7 separate regions of the Homo sapiens genome follow, and all the other regions are linked to region 1. Evidence: promoter capture Hi-C in 16 types of primary human blood cells and fetal thymus (Javierre and others, 2016). All regions are on one chromosome and are shown on one strand. The core of a region is centred on a gene start or on the middle of the fragment in contact, and the rest is flanking DNA. Distances in the headings are between cores, read along the strand shown. Region 1 holds the start of CD1B (CD1b molecule). Region 2 has its middle 14 kb from the start of SMIM42. Region 3 overlaps LINC01704 (long intergenic non-protein coding RNA 1704). Region 4 overlaps LOC105371460 (a long non-coding RNA gene). Region 5 has its middle 29 kb from the start of OR10R2. Region 6 overlaps LOC107985213 (a long non-coding RNA gene). Region 7 has its middle 3.3 kb from the start of CD1D.

What was found. The method cuts DNA at HindIII sites, captures the fragments that hold promoters and counts their contacts. A CHiCAGO score of 5 or more calls a contact.
Region 2: a fragment that was not itself captured here is called in contact with the fragment with the promoter of CD1B in region 1 in 1 of 17 cell types (fetal thymus); the score reaches 5.1 in fetal thymus.
Region 3: a contact is called between a fragment that was not itself captured here and the fragment with the promoter of CD1B in region 1, in 1 of 17 cell types (fetal thymus). The highest score is 6.5, in fetal thymus.
Region 4: a fragment that was not itself captured here is called in contact with the fragment with the promoter of CD1B in region 1 in 1 of 17 cell types (fetal thymus); the score reaches 5.4 in fetal thymus.
Region 5: a fragment that was not itself captured here is called in contact with the fragment with the promoter of CD1B in region 1 in 2 of 17 cell types (fetal thymus and M2 macrophages); the score reaches 18.7 in fetal thymus.
Region 6: a contact is called between a fragment that was not itself captured here and the fragment with the promoter of CD1B in region 1, in 3 of 17 cell types (fetal thymus, M2 macrophages and M0 macrophages). The highest score is 29.0, in fetal thymus.
Region 7: a fragment that was not itself captured here is called in contact with the fragment with the promoter of CD1B in region 1 in 1 of 17 cell types (fetal thymus); the score reaches 12.9 in fetal thymus.

What each region holds. Positions count from the first base shown.
Region 1 is chr1:158,330,253-158,332,833 of GRCh38, reverse strand. CD1B (CD1b molecule) reads left to right here and starts at 1,303. Exons shown (of 6, transcript NM_001764.3): 1 at 1,303-1,471; 2 at 1,772-2,038. The coding sequence starts at 1,411. The HindIII fragment of the contact is 309 bases long and covers 1,042-1,350 here.
Region 2 is chr1:158,113,015-158,115,595 of GRCh38, reverse strand. No RefSeq gene overlaps it. Among named protein-coding and RNA genes, the nearest start is that of SMIM42, 14 kb to the left of the region's middle. RefSeq lists an enhancer at 341-390. The HindIII fragment of the contact is 8,494 bases long and covers 1-2,581 here.
Region 3 is chr1:158,131,514-158,134,094 of GRCh38, reverse strand. It overlaps LINC01704 (long intergenic non-protein coding RNA 1704), which reads left to right. Exons shown (of 3, transcript NR_033946.1): 2 at 902-980; 3 at 1,439-2,051. Among named protein-coding and RNA genes, the nearest start is that of SMIM42, 4.5 kb to the right of the region's middle. The HindIII fragment of the contact is 9,432 bases long and covers 1-2,581 here.
Region 4 is chr1:158,157,344-158,159,924 of GRCh38, reverse strand. The region is part of intron 1 of LOC105371460 (a long non-coding RNA gene); the gene reads right to left. Among named protein-coding and RNA genes, the nearest start is that of LINC01704, 18 kb to the right of the region's middle. The HindIII fragment of the contact is 2,640 bases long and covers 1-2,581 here.
Region 5 is chr1:158,499,747-158,502,327 of GRCh38, reverse strand. No RefSeq gene overlaps it. Among named protein-coding and RNA genes, the nearest start is that of OR10R2, 29 kb to the right of the region's middle. The HindIII fragment of the contact is 6,418 bases long and covers 1-2,581 here.
Region 6 is chr1:158,483,016-158,485,596 of GRCh38, reverse strand. The region is part of intron 2 of LOC107985213 (a long non-coding RNA gene); the gene reads left to right. Among named protein-coding and RNA genes, the nearest start is that of OR10R2, 12 kb to the right of the region's middle. The HindIII fragment of the contact is 1,988 bases long and covers 297-2,284 here.
Region 7 is chr1:158,176,262-158,178,842 of GRCh38, reverse strand. It overlaps the pseudogene ELL2P1 and a transcript of CD1D not described here. Among named protein-coding and RNA genes, the nearest start is that of CD1D, 3.3 kb to the left of the region's middle. The HindIII fragment of the contact is 3,494 bases long and covers 1-2,581 here.

The sequences.
Region 1 (2,581 bases), core at 54-2,553:
AATGTTGTTAAGAGATACATACATTGAAATTTGGAGAGCTGCTCTGTATTTATCAATTAGGCAGTAATAATCTTGGATGAAGGCTAGTCTTATTAATGTTGTGAACCAGTCTTATTAATGTTGTGAACCAGTAGTGTCCCCAGGAATAGAGAACACTACACTACTCACTTTGCATTTTCTTATCCACATAATAGAATTAGTTAGTGATAACCCTCTTTACTCGGAATCGATTGCTGCCACATTTCTGCATGATACATAGATCTCTGCAAATATGTGATTTTTTTCCTAAATGGAGAAAATCCAAAAATTCTTCTTAAAATTTTTCATGGGCATACAAGAAGATAGGAGGTGACATCTTAAAACAAGTATCTCTGAACTTTTTGTATAAAAAAAAGCAACCTCTTTGCTCTATTATTAATACCACATGTGGTGATATGAATGCCCAAATGTAGACAGCAGTTATGAGATATTACAAGAGAAGAAAAAAGCTCTGCCGCTTATGGCAACTTACCCAAAAAGTTATCTTTGACTTAGGCTGGAGGTGCACATAGCATAGCTCCTAGAGTTCTGTTTATGTCATGAATATTTGTTACTCAAAACTCCATAGGCCAAGAGCTCCTGAAGAGAAGGTCACATGCTAGCAGCAATTGTCATTTTTTCCCTCAAATATTGCTATAGTATAATTTTGTTTGAATTATAAACTTCAGTCTTTATTATATTTGATTCTGGCATTTTGGTTTGTAGTGCTATAGTACAGGAAATGTTTTAAATGCTTTGCCTTTATGTAAGTGAATATCGGTACACACACATACACATACACACACAGACACAGACACACACACACACACACTCACAGCCAGTTTAGAATGTGGGGTAAGGAACACCAGACAAAGAGGGCAATATAAGAAAGAGAAGACATTGAAAACATTGGGAAGAGGCAGTAACAGAGTGCCAGAGAAGATAAGGCAGCTGGGAGGGGGAGAAACTAAGTGAGGTGGATAAACTAAAAGCATCCTTCTGGGTTAAAGCAGACTAAAAGCTTAGCAATTGCTTAATATCACCATCTTATCCTATAGATGTGGGAATAAAGGCTAAGGAAGGAGAAATGAAAATGCAGAATCATATGGGGGCTTTTCCAAGGAGGTATGAAGGAAGGTGAGGACAGGGAGAGCGGCTGGAAGTCAGGGGGTAAGAGAAACTCTAAAAATCAGGGCTTGAGGGAAATAAAAGGTGAGGTAAGAGGCTCAGGGCTGTGGGAGGCACATTTTTCTCTGAAAAGCAGTTTGGATGAGGAAGAGATTTGGCAGTTGGAAGAGAGAAGAAGTCACTACAGGGTACTGAGGAAAAGCTTTGCTGAAATTGGAGATCAAATACCAGCTCTGCCAGTAAGAAGTTGCATCTCCCAGTGAAATGCTGCTGCTGCCATTTCAACTGTTAGCTGTTCTCTTTCCTGGTGGTAACAGTGAACATGGTAAGAGTCACTCTGGCAGCTCCCAGCACTGGTGCAGGGGTTTGGATTTTAAAAAGCAAGCAGGGCTTTCCTAGGTGCAATTGGACACTAAGGGTCTGGGTCTTTCTGTCTCCCGCCCTCTTCAACCATTCTGGTGGTTGGGACTAGAACCTGAAGCCTTAAGGCAGTCAAATGTGTCAGACTTCCTGTGTTCTTTAGACTCTAGGTTCTTGTTTTCTAAATCATTTTCATTCCCATTCTTCCTAATTGTCTCCTGCTTCTCTCTTTATCTTCACCATCTTGCTTTTCCACTCTTCACAGCCTTCCAGGGGCCGACCTCCTTTCATGTTATCCAGACCTCGTCCTTTACCAATAGTACCTGGGCACAAACTCAAGGCTCAGGCTGGTTGGATGATTTGCAGATTCATGGCTGGGATAGCGACTCAGGCACTGCCATATTCCTGAAGCCTTGGTCTAAAGGTAACTTTAGTGATAAGGAGGTTGCTGAGTTAGAGGAGATATTCCGAGTCTACATCTTTGGATTCGCTCGAGAAGTACAAGACTTTGCCGGTGATTTCCAGATGAAATGTGAGTCTAGTCCACCGAACTGGGAAGAGTCTCAAGGACTCTCTTTTCTCTCTTTTTTGCAAAGTGTTGCTCTCTCTGATGCTTCTCCCTTCCTTTCTATTTTACCCAAATGCACGCACATGCTTTTCTTGAGTAGTCTCTCACTCCAGCTTCACACCATCACACCTCATATTTCAGATTCTTGCTGCCTCTGCACTCTTCTCTTACTCTCAGACTGTCTTCCACTTTGTAACCAGCTGCTGGTTTGTCTTATGTGAAACTTCTCCTCAAGGGCCCTTACTTCTCCTACCCTGTGCCTGAGTGATCTAACGTGTGGCTTTCTCCCCTAATCCATCTTTTCAATCATCTCCTCCCCGCACCCTCCTCTTGCTGGGAACCTCCACTCACTCTGGAATGCTGCACTCCTGACTGCACCACGCTCTGCCTCACCTCTCCTTTCATACTCACTGTACTCCTTTATCACATACCTTTGTCTTCATGGCATGCACATTTTTCTCAATGCTCTTGTTTCTGAAAATGTCTAAATGTTATCATTAGTTTTTA
Region 2 (2,581 bases), core at 59-2,558, 220 kb after region 1:
CCCCTCTTGCCCAGATCTGTTAGATACACACCTACCCCAAGCCTTACCTGCTCCTTTTCCTTTCCTACCCCCGGCCTACTCAGCCACTCTCTTCTATAGAGAACCTTCCTAAGTCCACAAAGACACAGAGGACACTCTCTTGTTGGGATATTCTCCTTGGTCTCTACCCCTAACATAGTCATAGATTAACACAGTTGTAGACTTCTGAGTCCATGGAATACAACCTCCTTATTTTACAGAAAAGAGAACTGAGACTCGAGAGATGAGGTAAGTAACCAAGGGCCCACAGCTCAGTCATCTGTATGTAAATGGCATGCCACCACTCACTCCGTTCAGTGCTCATACACCTCTATACAGACATCTGCACGGACACATCATCCATGGCCTGGTGTTATGGTGAGGGTATGGGTGGGGGTGAGAGCTGGGAATAATTCTACACAGGACCCCTGGGAGACAGGCCAGGTATCCTCAGTTCTTTTTAATTTTCATTTATTTGTTCATTTTTTGAGATAGAGTCTCGCTCTGTCACTCAGGCTAGAGTGCAGTCTCAACTCACTGCAACCTCCACCTCTCGAGTTCAAGTGATTCTCCTACTTCAGCCTCCAGAGTAGCTGGGATTACAGGTGCCTGCCACCACGCCCGGCTAATGTTTGTACTTTTAGTAGAGATGGGGTTTCTCCATGTTGGCTAGGCTGGTCTCGAACTCCTCACCTCAGATTATCTGCCAGCCTCGGCCTCCCAAATGTGTTGGGATGACAGGAGTGAGCCACTGTGCCCGGCCCTTGGCCCCCTTTTTAAATTTTTTAAATTTTTTACTTTTTTTTTTTTTTTTTTGAGACGGAGTCTTGCTCTGTTGCCCATGCTGGAGTGCAATGGCATGATTTCGGCTCACTACAACCTCTGCTTCCCAGGTTCAAGCGATTCTCCTGCCTCATCCTCCCAAGTAGCTGGAACTACAGGTGCCTGCCACCATGCCTGGCTAATTTTTGTATTTTTAGTAGAGATGGGGTTTCACTGTGTTGGCCAAGCTGGTCTCGAACTCCTGACCTCATGATCTGCCTGCCTCGGCCTCCCAAAGTGCTGGAATTACAAGCGTGAGCTACCACGACTGGCCAATTTTTTAAATGTTTGTGTGCACTCCTCAGCTTCTTTCTGAGCCATTCTGGGAATCTTACAGTTGGGAAGATAGTCAACCGGCCAACTGGATGCATCAGTCACCCCACACTCCAAAGAACTCCCCAGAAGATGTTGGCCCGGCTTGGCTGTCTTTGGATCTCTGTCTCTCTCTGTCTCTCTCTCTCTCTCTCTGCTTCAGGGAAGGAAACATTTCTGGTGAATGAGGAGGCAACGGGCGAGACCTCAGGAGACAAGGTTGTTCATTCTAGGAATCTGTCTCAGACAATCTTCATCACCCGGAAACGATGGGAGGGGTGATGGGGGTGTCTTTCTGTGGGCATAGGGACAGAGGCCAGGGTCGACTGAGAAACAGACGATGAAGAGACAAGAAGGAAAAGGAGAGATGGCCTAGGACAGGCAGGGAGCCAGCTAAGTTTCCGCCAGGCTGAGTTCCGTGAAGGAAGAGATGCCTATTTTAGTCATCCCTGTATCCCTCCTGCCTCCTTCCTCACCCCCAGGTCCCCAGCACTAAGAAGAGAGTGATGTGGAGAAATGGATGGGGGCACCCAACGAATATGAAGCTGAAAGACAGGGGAAATGGCAGAAACAAAGGACAACCTTTAAGAAGCAAACGGGGTGGCAGAAAGGAAGAGTAGGGACGTGGAGGCAGCAGAAAGGCAGGCCACAGCTCAGGAGTTACGGAGGAGCAGAGGAGGGCAGGGGAGGGCTCGGCCCGCGGAGTCAGCGCTCCTCCCGCGCCGACCTCGGGCTCCGGGCGGCCGCCGGGGGGCGCCGGGCGCATCCTTCGCTGCCAACTCCCCGCCCGTGCCCCCGCTCGCGCCTGGGCCCCGCCGCACTCCAGCAGAAGCCATTACAGAGAACAAACTACCTTCTTGTCTCCGAGATGGGTCCCCGGGGAGGAAGGCAAATTGCCTGCCTCGTGCATAATAAGCCAGGCGTGGAGAGCAGCGCGGAGGAGGCCGCGGCAGCCACCGAGCGGGCAGAGCCTCCCGCCCCCACCCGCCGCCCGCGCCTGCCGAGCCCCCTGCCGAGCGGGCGGCGCGCAGGTCCGGAGAATCTCAAAAGGCTTGGAACACCGGGCTGCTTCCCGGTACCCCCATTCCTGCACAAGTTTGTGACTGTGGGCTTATCCCAGGAGAACCACACCAAGAGCTCGGTGCCTTTGCCCGGGATGCCTTTCTTCATGAGAAAAAGCCGGCTGCCCTTCTCATCCTTCTCGGAAGTTACAGTCTCCTCACTTTGAATTCGACCATCAGAAGTAATCGCTTCCTCTTCCTGCTAAGATAGCACTTTGTTCAGACTCCTAGTATTTAGCGATGACATCACGTTTATAGTTATTTGCATACAGGTACGTCTCTGCTATTGGACTACACATTCCTAAAGGACAGAAACCATAATTTACTTCTGTCCATACCCCAGAGACTTAGCACGGTGTCCAGTACCG
Region 3 (2,581 bases), core at 54-2,553, 200 kb after region 1:
TCTAGCACTAATTTCTGCATGAACTTGAGCAAATTACTCAGTCTCATTGAGCCTCAATTAGCCAAAAGGACAAAGCGAGCTGATGCAGGTATAACAGCCCAGTAGCTAGCATAAGAAAAGAAATAATGCCAGTGGCTCACACCTGTAATCCCAACACTTTGGGAAGCCGAGGCAGGTGGATCGCCTACGGTCAGAAGTTCGAGAACAGCCTGACCAACATGATGAAACCCCTTCTCTACTAAAAATACAAAAACTGGTCGGGAGGCCGGGTGCGGTGGCTCACGCCTGTAATCCCAGCACTTTGGGAGGCCGAGATGGGTGGATCACGAGATCAGGAGATGGAGACCATCCTGGCTAACACGGCAAAACCCCATCTCTACTAAAAATACAAAAAAATTAGCCGGGCATGGTGGCAGCCTCCTGTAGTCCCAGCTACTGGGAAGGCTGAGGCAGGAGAATGGCGTGAACCCGGGAGGCGGAGCTTGCAGTGAGCCGAGATCGTGCCACTGAACTCCAGCCTGGGTGACAGAGCGAGACTCCGTCTCAAAAAATAATAATAATAATAAATAAATATAATTTTTTAAAAAAACTGGTCGGGAGTGGTGGCAGGCACCTGTAATCCCAGCTACTCAGGAGGCTGAGGCAGGAGAATCACTTGAACCAGCACAGCAGAGGTTGCAGTGAGCTGAGATCGTGTCATTGCACTCCAGCCTGGGCAACAAGAGTGAAACTCCATCTCAAAAAAAAAAAAAAAAAAGAGAAAAGAAAGAAAGAATGCAGTAAATTATTGCTGTTACTATCTCTCAGAGTTGTTGTTATAAATAAAACACCATGTCAAAGCACCTAGGAAATCATCTTAGTGGAGGTTCGGTAAACTTTAATCTCTTCTCTTCCACATTAGAAATGTAAATTAAATGCTCTCAAGGGATGAGAGACACTGGAAGCTGGGACGCTCTTGGAACTCTGTTGCCATCATCAAGGTGAGAAAACTCAGGGCCTGGTTCAGAGTCCATGGAGGACTCAGGTATTTGAGGTTTAAGTGGTTGGTACGTAATGTCTCCATTTTCCACCTTAATATAAAACGTGTCTCTTTTTCTCATCCAAGTTTTGGACCAGCGGAGACAAAGAAATGAGGCAGATAGCAAAACTCACCTTTATAACTGATTGAAAAAAAACATGGTGGACTGACTCACCACCCAACATAATTATCGATGGAAAACACAGGTCTCTCACTCCTGGGGACATAGCCCTGGGAAATGTACAGAAAGCAGCAGGTGCATGGGGTGCTTTCTGCATCCTGGGGCCAAGAGTGACAGCCAGAGCCTAGAGAGGCCAGGAGTGTTTGTTTAATAGGGTTTCTGCCCCAAGAAAGAAAACACCAGCAATGTAGAGAAAGTGTTCCCCCAATGGCATGTTCTATTTCTTTTTTTCTACTTAGGCTTCCAGATACAGCCCTCTAGGTCATCCAGAGGTGCCAGCCAGCCCTCACCAGTGGTCAGCTTTTCCTCAGTGGAGTGGTAGGTGAGCCAGTGGAGCTTGCTCTGAAGATACTAGAGGGAGCCAAAGCTGTCTGGCCCTTCAGTGTGACTCAGTTTCCAGACTCTTTCTCTTTAGACATAAATGAAGAACAAGTCAACCTTGATGCCTTTGAGGGTTGGTTCAGCGGATGATGTGTTGTGGGGTTTTCCCACAGGTCAGCAGTCCAACTACCAGGGCCAGAGCCCCATCAAAGAATCTTCAGTGCCAGCCAGAAAGAATGATGAACTCCTCGTGTAAAGGGAGTTTGGGGCAACCAGTCAAACCATGGCCTCATGGGAAGCAGCTGACTAGGCAATGAGAGAGGAATACAAAAGACAAGGCACTGCGAAGCCAAGTCTGGTTGGGGAGAAGAAACCAATATGCCTGAAACAGGGAACCAGAAAGGACTCAGACAAAACTGCTGACAAGTATGGGGTTTCTTGGGGTAGGTGGTGAAAATATTCCAAAATAAGATTATAGCGATGTTTTAATAATCCCCTGGATATAATAAAAAAACATCGAATTGTACACTTCAAATGAGTGAACTGTGTGGTATGTGAATTATATATCTCAATAAAGATGTTTTAAAAAGAAGACACAGGCTGGGCACAGTGGCTAATGCCTGTAATACCAACACTTTGGGAGGCTGAAGTGGGCAGATAGCTTGAGCCCAGGAGTTTGAGAACAGCCTGGGCAACATGGTGAAACTCTGTCTCTGCAAAAAATACAAAACAAAACAAAACAAAAACAGCTGGGTGTGGTGGTGCTAGCTGTAGGTATGGTGGCATGCGCCTGTAGTCCCACCTACAAGGGAAGCTGAGGTGGGAGGATCAACTGAACCTAGAAGGTTGAGGCCATGCCACTGCACTCCAGCCTGGGCAACAGAGCAAGACCCTGTTAGTGTGCCAAAAATTGTGTGACTTTAGTCACTTCCCTTCTTTATGCCTCAGTTTCCTCATCTATTAGGTGAAGGAGTGGGAATAGATGACCTCTCTAAGGTTCCCGTATTAACTTCCTGGGGCTGCCATAATAGATTACCACAAATTTGGTGGTTCAAGGCAAC
Region 4 (2,581 bases), core at 36-2,535, 170 kb after region 1:
TGATCATAAAGATATCACCCTCATTCAAAGCTCAGACCCAGCAAAATTGCTATATGAATAAAATATGTATACAAACTAATCTTTTTAAAAAACTTTTCCCAAGGCTGTATATGAATATAAAAACCCAGATTTGAATTATACATGCAAACTGTAAAAGCAGAGACACATGCTCCCTATTAAGTCTGTGTTTTAAAATATCCAGTTACCAATCAAGAAACCCCAGTAGATTCCAAAGAAGCATATGTAAGAAACCATGACAAGGTAAAAGATTATTATCTGGCAAGTAGTGCCTAGAATCAGGTCTGAGGGGGCCAGAAGGGACTATGAATCACAAGGTGAGAAAAGATAATTTGCAGCAAATTGGTAAGATATGTGGGAGGAGCTAAAGTAGTTGGGTCTGCCGGGTGAGGTGGCTCACACCTGTAATCCCAGCACTTTGGGAGGCCAAGGCAGGTGGGTCACCTGCGGTCAGGAGTTCTAGACCAGCCTGACCAACATGCCAAAACCCCGTCTCTACTAAAAATACAAAATTAGCCGGGCGTGGTGGTACATGCCTGTAATCCCAGCTACTCGGGAGGCTGAGGCAGGAGAATTGCTTGAATCCAGGAGACAGAGGTTGCAATGAGCTGAGATCGCACCATTGCACTCCAGCCTGGGCAACAAGAGTGAAACTCCATCTCCAAATAAATAAATAGATAAGTAAAATAAAGTAGTTAGGTCAGGTCATGAACAATAAGAGGACATTAGAGGCCTGTTTGTGTCTTTATTGTGGTGCTATCAACTGTGAAAAGCTGAGGCAAGCCTGAGAGCTTGTGAGAACTACAGGACCAGCCAGCAAGTCCTTGTTTCAGCACCAAATTTAATTTATACTGGCTGTGTTAACTTGCACAAGACCCCTACCTTCCTGAATCTGAATTTCCTCATTGGAAAATGGAGTCCATTAATGCCCCCTCACAGAGTTGTGGTACTTGGATTGATCACAGTGGTGCACATATTTACTACATTATTATGCGCTGGAGAGGAGCCAGGCCTACCCTATACCAGTTTTCTCTTCTTAATCACTGGCACCTCCTTTCCTACAGTTGTTGAAGCAAAAAACAGAATCGTTATGTCCTCCTTTCTTTTCTCCAGCTCACATCCATCCCATGAGGAAATCTATCAAATCCACCTTTAAAATATATCCAACAACATGCTACCACCGCTCACCACCTCTACTACAACTACCTGGGCCCCTATCACCAGGTTTCCTTTTTCTTGTTTTCACTCAGGCTATTACAAGAGCTTCCTCACTGGTCTCCCTCTCTGCCCTACCTTTGCATCCTACAGTTCTTAATCGTAACACAGAGAGAGCCTTTTAAAATATGTCAGGTCACACATAGGGTTCATGCCTGTAATCTTAGCATTTTGGGAGGCTGAGCGGGAGGATCACTTGAGCCCAGCAGTTCAAGACCAGCCTGGGTAACAAAGCAAAACACTATCTCTACAAAAAATTTAAAAATTAGCTGGGCATGGTGATGCGTGTCTTTGGTCCCAGCTACTCAGGAGGCTGAGGCAAGAGGACTGTTTAATCTGGGTAGATTGAGGCTGCAGTGAGCTATGATCATGCCACTACCCTCCAGCCTGGGTGACAGAGTGAGACCTTGTCTCAAAAAATAATTAAAAAAAAGAAACTAAATGTGTCACATCACATTATTCATATGCTGAGGCCCTTCCAGTGGCTCAGATCTCACTCAGAGCCCTTACAATGGCCCACAAGGCCTGTGGGATCGGGTTCCCTGCCATACCTCCCTGACCCAAATCTCCTCTTCACTAACTTGGTAACAATCACATTGAAATAGGAGTTCAGCAGGACTTGGTTTTTAAGACACAGGTCACAATGACCCCACTGATAAAACAACATACAGTAAAGAAGCCAGCCAAAATCAGCCAGAACCAAGATGGTGACGAAAGCGGCCTCTAGTCATCCTCACTCCTCATTATATGTTAATTATAATGTATCCGCATGCTAAAAGACACTCCCACCAGCTGCCAAGACAGTTTACAAATGCCAGGCAACATCCCAAAGTTATGGTGGAAAGATATGGTCGAAAAACGGAGGGAACCCTCATTCCAGGAATTCCGTGCCCCTTTCCTTTCCCAGAAAATTCATAAAGAGTCCACCTCTTGTTTAGCTATGATCAAAAATAACCGTGGAAATAGCCAACCAGCAGCTCTCAGGGCTACTCTGCCTATGGGGTAGCCACACTTTTTATTCCATTACTTTTTACTAAATTTGCTTTCACTTTACTCTGTTGGCTCAATCTTGAATTCTTTTCTGTGTGAAGCCAAGAAGCCATGTGGCCTCCCAGGCTGAGCCCCAGTTTTGAGGTTCACCCTGTGACAACATGTCCTACTGATGCCTTGATTTTAGCACAGTGAGACTCATTTCAGACTTCTTACCTCTAGAACTGTAAATTTGAGAAATTTCATTGTTTTAAGCCACTCAGTTTGTGCCTGCCATCAACACTGTCTCAAATTATTTATTCCTACACCTTATGGTCCATTGTAAATCACAAGCCTGCGAACCCAGAAAATCTTAGAC
Region 5 (2,581 bases), core at 53-2,552, 170 kb before region 1:
GAATAAAAGTTTGAGAAATCTGCAGCCTGGCAATGTGGCAAAGGAAGAAAAAGCTCTTGAGGGGAGAAGAATTCAAGCAGGTTGTGGAACAACCACTTTACTAAAGAAATTTGCATACTTAAGTGGGTCAGGCGTGGTGGCTCACGCCTGTAATCCCAGCACTTTGGGAGGCTGAGGTGGACGGATCACAAGGTCAGTAGATCGAGACTGTCCTGGCTAACATGGTGAAACCCCATCTCTACTAAAAATACAAAAAAAAAATTAGCTGGGTGCGGTGGTGGGCGCCTGTAGTCCCAGCTACTCTGGCTGAGGCGGGAGAATGGCGTGAACCTGGGAGGCATAGCTTGCAGTGAGCCGAGATCATGCCACTGCACTCCAGCCTGGGTGACAGAGCAAGACTCCATCTCAAAAAAAAAAAAAAAAAAAGAAAAAAAAAGAAATTTGCATACCTATGAAGGAGCCAAGTGCTGATAGTCAAGACAATGGGGGAAAAGCCTTGAAGGCATCTCAGAGACCTCTGTGGCAGCCCCTTCCATTAAAGGCCCAGAATCCCTACTGCCACACACACAGCTTCATGACACTGCTCCCTGCATCCTGCTGCTCCAGCTTCAACTGGGGCTCAAAGGGGCCCAGGTACTGCTCAACATGCTACTTTGGAGAGTTCAAGCCACTGTAAGCCTTGGCAATTTGCACATGATTTTAAGCCTGTAGGCACACAGAGTTCAGAGTGAATGAGAATTTGCACCATCTGCCTAGATTTCAGAGGACATATGGAAAAGCCTGAGTGCCCAGACAGAGGCCTGCTGCAGGGGTGGGGAACCCCACAGGGAACCTCTACTATGGCAATGCAGAGGGGAAATGTGGGTTTGCCCCCCGCCCCAGAGTTCCCACTGGGGCACTGCCTAGTGGAGCTGTGAGAAGGGGACCGCCATCCTCCAGACCCCAGAAAGGAAGATCCACTGTCAGCTTGCCCTCTGCACCTGGAAAAGCCAAGAACACTCAACACCAACCCGTGGAAACAGCCATGGGTATTCAACCCTGCAAAGCCATAGGGATACAGCTGCCCTAAGCCTTGAGAGCCATGACTGACACCTCTCTGAGGAGCTTGCAGCAGTGTGACCTGGATGTAGAATATGGAGTCAAAGGATATTATTTTGGAGCTTTAAGATTTAATGACTGCCCTCCTGGCTTTAGGACTTGCTTGGGGCCTATAGCCCCTATTTTTTTGGCCAATTTCTTTCTTTTAGGATAGCAACGTTTACCCAATACCTGTATCCCTATTGTATCTTGGAAGTAAATAACTTGGTTTTGATTTTATAGGTTCATGAATGAAAGGGACTTTCCTTGTCAAAGATGAGACTCTGGACTTCGGACTTGTGAGTTAACACTGGAACAAGTTAAAACTTTGGAGGACTCTTAGGAAGGCATAAATATATTTTGCAATGTGAGAAGGACATAGATTTGGGAGGAGCCGGAGAAATATTGATATAGTTTGGATATTTGTCCCCACACAAATCTTACGTTGAATTGTAATCACCAGTGCTGAAGGTGGGAGGTGTTTCGGTCATGGGGGTGAACTTCGCATGACTTGGTCTATTTTTATGATAGTGAGTAAGTTCTCACAAGATCTTGCCATTTCAAAATTTGCAGCACCTTCCCCCAACTCTCTCTCTCCTGTTCTGGTCATGTGATGTGCCCGCTCCTGCTTCACCTTCCACCATGATTGAAAGTTCCCTGAGCCTTCACCAGAAGCCAAGTGGATGCCAGCACCATGCTTCCTGTAAATTCTGCAAATCATGAGCCAACAAAACCACTTTTCTTTATAAATTACCCAATCTCAGGTATTTCTTTATAGCAATGCAAGAATGGCATAATATATGATTACAGTTACCAATACCTTTTGATCAGGGGGTGGATTCATGTTAAATGTTCTTATCACACACAAAAAAAGTCAGTGTTGACCTAGTTGAAAAACTAGCTTATTTGTGACTCATGCTATATTAAAAAACAACTACTGAATAAATCAAGAGTGCTATTGTTTTTTCTGAGTGAAATTGTAATTGACCTATGTAACCCTTGTTTCAAATGTCCTTGTTAGAATTTTCAGAAAAATTTTAGTGGAGTATATTTTATAAACATCTCCTGACATTAACATAATTCTAGGGCTCATAGGGATGAATAAATCTAAATTCTGTCAAAATTTTAAAAAGAAAGAAAATTAAGAATGTAATTGCCTTTTAGCTCCAAATCTACCTTTACTTGTCCTGATTGTGTTACTGGAATGTTTCTCCTTTACCAGCAGACATGATGTTAAGCTCTTCTGTAGAAGGCGTGAAGGGACACTGAAGTTAAAACGGAGTTCTCTTCCCATTTCTGGCTGCTTTCATCTGCCTGGACATGCTGTGTGTGTGAAGTCTAGTAACAAGTAGGACGCCCAGTAGTGCTACTTCCCAGGCAGTACCATCATCAAAGGTATTTTGCCAGAAGGTTGCAAACAGAAGCATCCTCCCATAGATGCCCCCCACCCACAGAGTACTTCAGAGAGTGGTTTTCCAGCAAGTTCTAAAGTATAGCTCTTCCT
Region 6 (2,581 bases), core at 41-2,540, 150 kb before region 1:
TCCAACCTGCTGGGACAAAGAACAAATTCCAGCTGTCCCCACTGAGCCCTGCCAAAATTGCAGACTTGTGTGCAAAATAATTACAGCTCATTTAAGCAACTAAAGTTGTAGAGAGTTGATTATGCAGCAGTAAATAATGAGAACAGAATTTGGTATCTAAAGGCAGGGTGCTGTTATAATCAACATTTAAAACATTTGGCATTAATTTTGCAATTGGTGGTATAAATAATCCATAAGGACTTAAGGAGTCTCTTACTAAAAGGTGAAAGGATCATAAGGCAACTCTTGGTAAAGCTTTGAAGCACAGAGAGAAAAATATTTGAAGGACAGAGAGGAAACTGTTATCATACTTAGGTAAAACATGGATACTTATTATCCATTGCTCTAAAGTTTGGCAGCAGGACCACATGCTACAGCCTGGAAAATAGACTATTTAGTAATCTCATTATCTTCCTGGGTAAATTTCTAGGAAGACTATAGAAAATTCCAACCAATGATAAAATATGAAAAGAGAGTAGACAGCAGGATACTAGAGGAAGGGAATAGTAGAGAAAAGGGAAGGATAGGTGGAGATTTGCTAAAGGATACAAAATTACAGCTAGATAAAGGAATAAGTTACAGTGTTCTTTGCTACTGTAGGATGACTATAGTTAACAGTAATGTATAGATTCAAATTGCCAGAAGGAGGGTGTTGAACATTCCCAACATGAAGAAATGATAAATGTTTGAGATGATGATATGCTAATTACCTTGATCTGATCCCTATAACATTATTTATATCAGAATATTACTATGCACCTAAGGAATATGAACAATGACTATTTGTCAATTTAAAAGTACATAATTTTTTAAAGTTTCTTAAGTTTCTGAGAATTTAGAGGAAACAGAAAGAAACAAAACTTGTTGGGTTTGCAAATAAAGATGTTTCTCATGCACAGTCTCTCTCAACAAAGACTCTCAAGGTACAAAATGGCTTCAAGGAAGAAATCAAATCCAAGGTGCTATCAGGAAACCAATGCCTCAGGGTAAACCTCTTAAGAATGTAGCTGTAATACTTTTTGTTAGAACTCAGAAATATTTTAGGCTATACCCAACAAGATTTATAAATATCCTAAGGGCCTGACTCCTTAAAGTTAAGCAATAAGTCTTTTTAAGAATCTTAAGGGAATTGCCATACAGCAGTTATTAATACTGCTACCTCACAAGTGACCCATAATAAAGAAATGAATATGGATGTGACTTTTATCTAATGGAATTAATTTATAAACTGAAACATAAGAAACTCACCAAGTTTTAAAAAGGCATTCTATCAACATGTGCTAAAGGCTACAGAGCAAACAGAAATGAATAGACCTTTGGACCCTCAACTTCTTCCATGGAGGTATCAGACTAAGAAATGACATGTCTGCAAATTGTAGCTATGTCTTGCAGATAAAAAAGGATGATCAGAAAGTGGGGAAATGGCATCACAGGTTAGATCTAAGAGTCATGGAATTCATTCCCAGAAAATAGGACTGGCAACAGTGTCCAGATGAATTTCAGAATTTCTATGGACCAATGACTGTGATGTGTCTAATTTCCTCCTTTTTCACAAGGGAATGTCCATTGCTATTCCTATGCCCATCACATCATTGTCTTTTTGGGTGTCAGGAGCAGACAACCTGCTGGTATTATGCCTTAAAAGACTAGCAGCTTCCTCTTTCTGTTTCTTGGAATGTTTAGTCTTTGAAACCAGTCATGATGTTGTGAGAAAGTTTATAGAACCCCATGAAAAGGGCCACATGGAGAGATACTGACTCTCACAACCTATAGCCCTGACTCAGCTCCACTACAAATCAGCATCATTTTGCCAGCCGTGTAAATGAGCCAAATGGAAGTGGGTCCCTCAATTCTAGTTGAGCAGCTCAGTTGACATTGTATGGAGTTAAGACAAGCCAATCTTATAAGCCCTCTCCCATTTAAGAGATTAATGAGCAAAATAAATTATCATTGTCATTGTTATTTTTAATTACTGTTATGGGGGACATAAATATTGCTACACTTTCACATGTAGTTTCAGATGTTTTTCTTAGCTAGACCAAGAAGTCATTTATTCAATTAAAGTTAAGAGACATGTATTAGTTATCTCCTGAATGTCAGGGATATAAAAGACATTTAGGAGGAGTTAATGTATCGGTATAATAAATTACTTCCTTTCACGTTGTTGATTGTCCATTAGAGAAAATAAGATATGTACATAATCAGCTCAATATGTCAGAGCTCAGTAAGAAGTATAAGTAAAGCTTACAATGCTATGGTGTTTTGAAGAATGGAAATCAGGTAATACTTCATGAAACAGGTGAAAATAAAAAAAACTTTGATGGTAGACATTGGACAAAGAAGGAGATAATCTTTTCAAATAAGACCTTTTTTGATTCTTAGGCCGGTACAGGACCATTCTCCATAGGATCCCACTTTATAAGCTGTAAGTAAAGAAATGTGGTGCACAGAATGGCAAATTTATGTTTATCTTCTACTGCCTTTTTAATTAATGATGGCTATAGTATGATGATGGCAAACAAGGCCATTTTGTCACTGCAAA
Region 7 (2,581 bases), core at 42-2,541, 150 kb after region 1:
AAACGTTTTGCAATATGTTACCTAAACAAAATATTTTATAACAAGACTGACTCAGAATACCCTAGCACAGAGAGATGGTGATTTACTCAGAGCCTTAAAATAAGCCCACGGTGGGTACTACATGATCTCACTTATATGTGGACTCTAAAATAGTTTACTATTTTATGGAAACAGAGTTAGGGTAGTGGTTTCCAGGAGCTGGAGGGAAGGGGCAAATGTGTTAATTTTGGTCAAAGGGTTTCAGCCTCTCAATTTTGAGAGGCTGACCAAAACCTTGGAGCCTGATCATAAGGGACTTACTTGGTTTCAGTTCAGAATTCACAATTCACAACGTCAAATTAGTTGGAATCTTATATGCTTTCTTCATGTTTTTGTTATCCTAACCATAAGGAGACCATTTAATGTACAAAGGATAGCTGCATATGAGAATTTAAGATTCTTGAGAGGACACATCAGGGAAACTTTTATAATAGCTATCAGGAGGATAATACCAACGAACTAAAGAACTCTTCTTAATAGCACTTTCCACAAGCCAACCTGATCAAAATCAAACAATTCAAAGTTCAGTCAATAAAGTTTAACAGCATTCAAGTGCAATTGCTCATAGTCTTTATTCAGAGCATAATGGTGATCAAGGACCGTAGTTTGCTGTAAAATGGCCTGATTTAAAGAGGTATTCATTTTTGTAAGTAGCCTGATAATACAAACCACAGTAACCTGGAGATCCACTAAAAGAAACATAAGGATTAGAAAACCTTGTGATAGCTCTCTTACCTCTCGGACGTCCAGTCCCAGGAGCAAAACTCCAGCGACTTTGGGCCCCGCCCCCGTGAAAGTGGAGGGCGGCCGATGAGGACGGTTCTGAGGGAACTAGACCAATGAGACTAGCCTGGGGCGGGGCGCGGGGCCAGAGGGTGGGGCAGGTGGCGGCGATGGCAGTCCGAGGTCTGGCTCCGCGCAGTATATGACAGTACGCCAGCAGCGGGATGGCCCTAGCAGTGGCGGCGGCTGCAGAAGCCCAAGCAGCTGCGGCCGCAGTGGAGGCTGGAGCTGGACTGGCGGCGGCGGCACCTCTGGGAGTTTAAGATGTCGGGGGTGGGGGGGTCGCGGGGCAGCGCTATGGGCTCTCGTGCGGACGGCTGGGGCAGGACAACATCACCGTACTGCATGTGAAGCTCACCGAGTCGGCGATCCAGGCGCTCCAGACTTACCAGAGCCACAAGAATTTAATTTCTTTTCGACCTTCAATTCAGTTCCAAAGACTCCAGGAGCTTGTCAAAATTCCCAAAAATGATCCCCTCAATGAAGTTCATAACTTTAACTTTTATTTGTCAAATGTGGGCAAAGACAACCCTCAGGGCAGCTTTGACTGCGTCCAGCAAACATTCTCCAGCTCTGGAGCCTCCCAGCTCAATTGCCTGGGATTTATACAAGATAAAATTACAGTGTGTGCAACAAACGACTCGGATCAGATGACACGAGAAAGAACGACCCAGGCAGAGGAGGAATCCCGCAACCGAAGCACAGAAGTTATCAAACCCGGTGGACCATATGTAGGGAAAAGAGTGCAAATTCGGAAAGCACCTCAAGCTGTTTCAGATACAGTTCCTGAGAGGAAAAGGTCAACCCCCATGAACCCTGCAAATCCAATTCGATAGACACACAGCAGCAGCAGCGTCTCTCAGAAGCCATACAGGGACAGGGTGGTTCACTTACTGGCCCTGAAGGCCTACAAGAAACCGGAGCTACTTGCTAGACTCCAGAAAGATGGTGTCAATCAAAAAGACAGGAACTCCCTGGGAGCAATTCTGCAACAGGTAGCCAATCTGAATCCTAAGGACCTCTCGTATACTTCAAAGGATTATGTTTTTAAAGAGCTTCAGAGAGACTGGCCTGGATACAGTGAAATAGACACTTGGTCATTGGAGTCAATGCTCTCTAGAAAACTAAATCCATCTCAGAATGCTGCAGGCACCAGCCGTTCAGAATCTCCAGTATGTTCTAGTAGAAACGCTGTATCTTCTCCTCAGACACGGCTTTTGGATTCAGAGTTTATTGATCATTTAATGGATAAAAAAGCCCGAATATCTCACCTGACGAGCAGAGTACCACCAACACTAAATGGTCATTTGAATCCCACCAGTGAAAAATCTGCTGCAGGCCTCCCTCTGCCCCCTGCAGCTGCTGCCATCCCCACCCCTCCACCGCTTGCCTTCAACCCATCTGCCGGTTTCACATCCTCCTCAGATTGTAAATTCTAACTCCAATTCCCCTAGCACTCCAGAAGGCCGGGGGCTCAAGACCTACCTGTTGACAGTTTTAGTCAAAACAATAGTATCTATGAGAACCAACAAGACAAGTATACCTCTAGGACTTCTCTGGAAACCTTACCCCCTGGTTCAGTTCTATTAAAGTGTCCAAAGCCTATGGAAGAAAACCATTCAGTGTCTCACAAAAAGTCCAAAAAGAAGTCTAAAAAACATAAGGAAAAGGACCAAATAAAAAAGCACGACATTGAGACTATTGAGGAAAAGGAGAAAGATCTTAAGAGAGAAGAGGAAATTGCCAAGCTAAATAACTC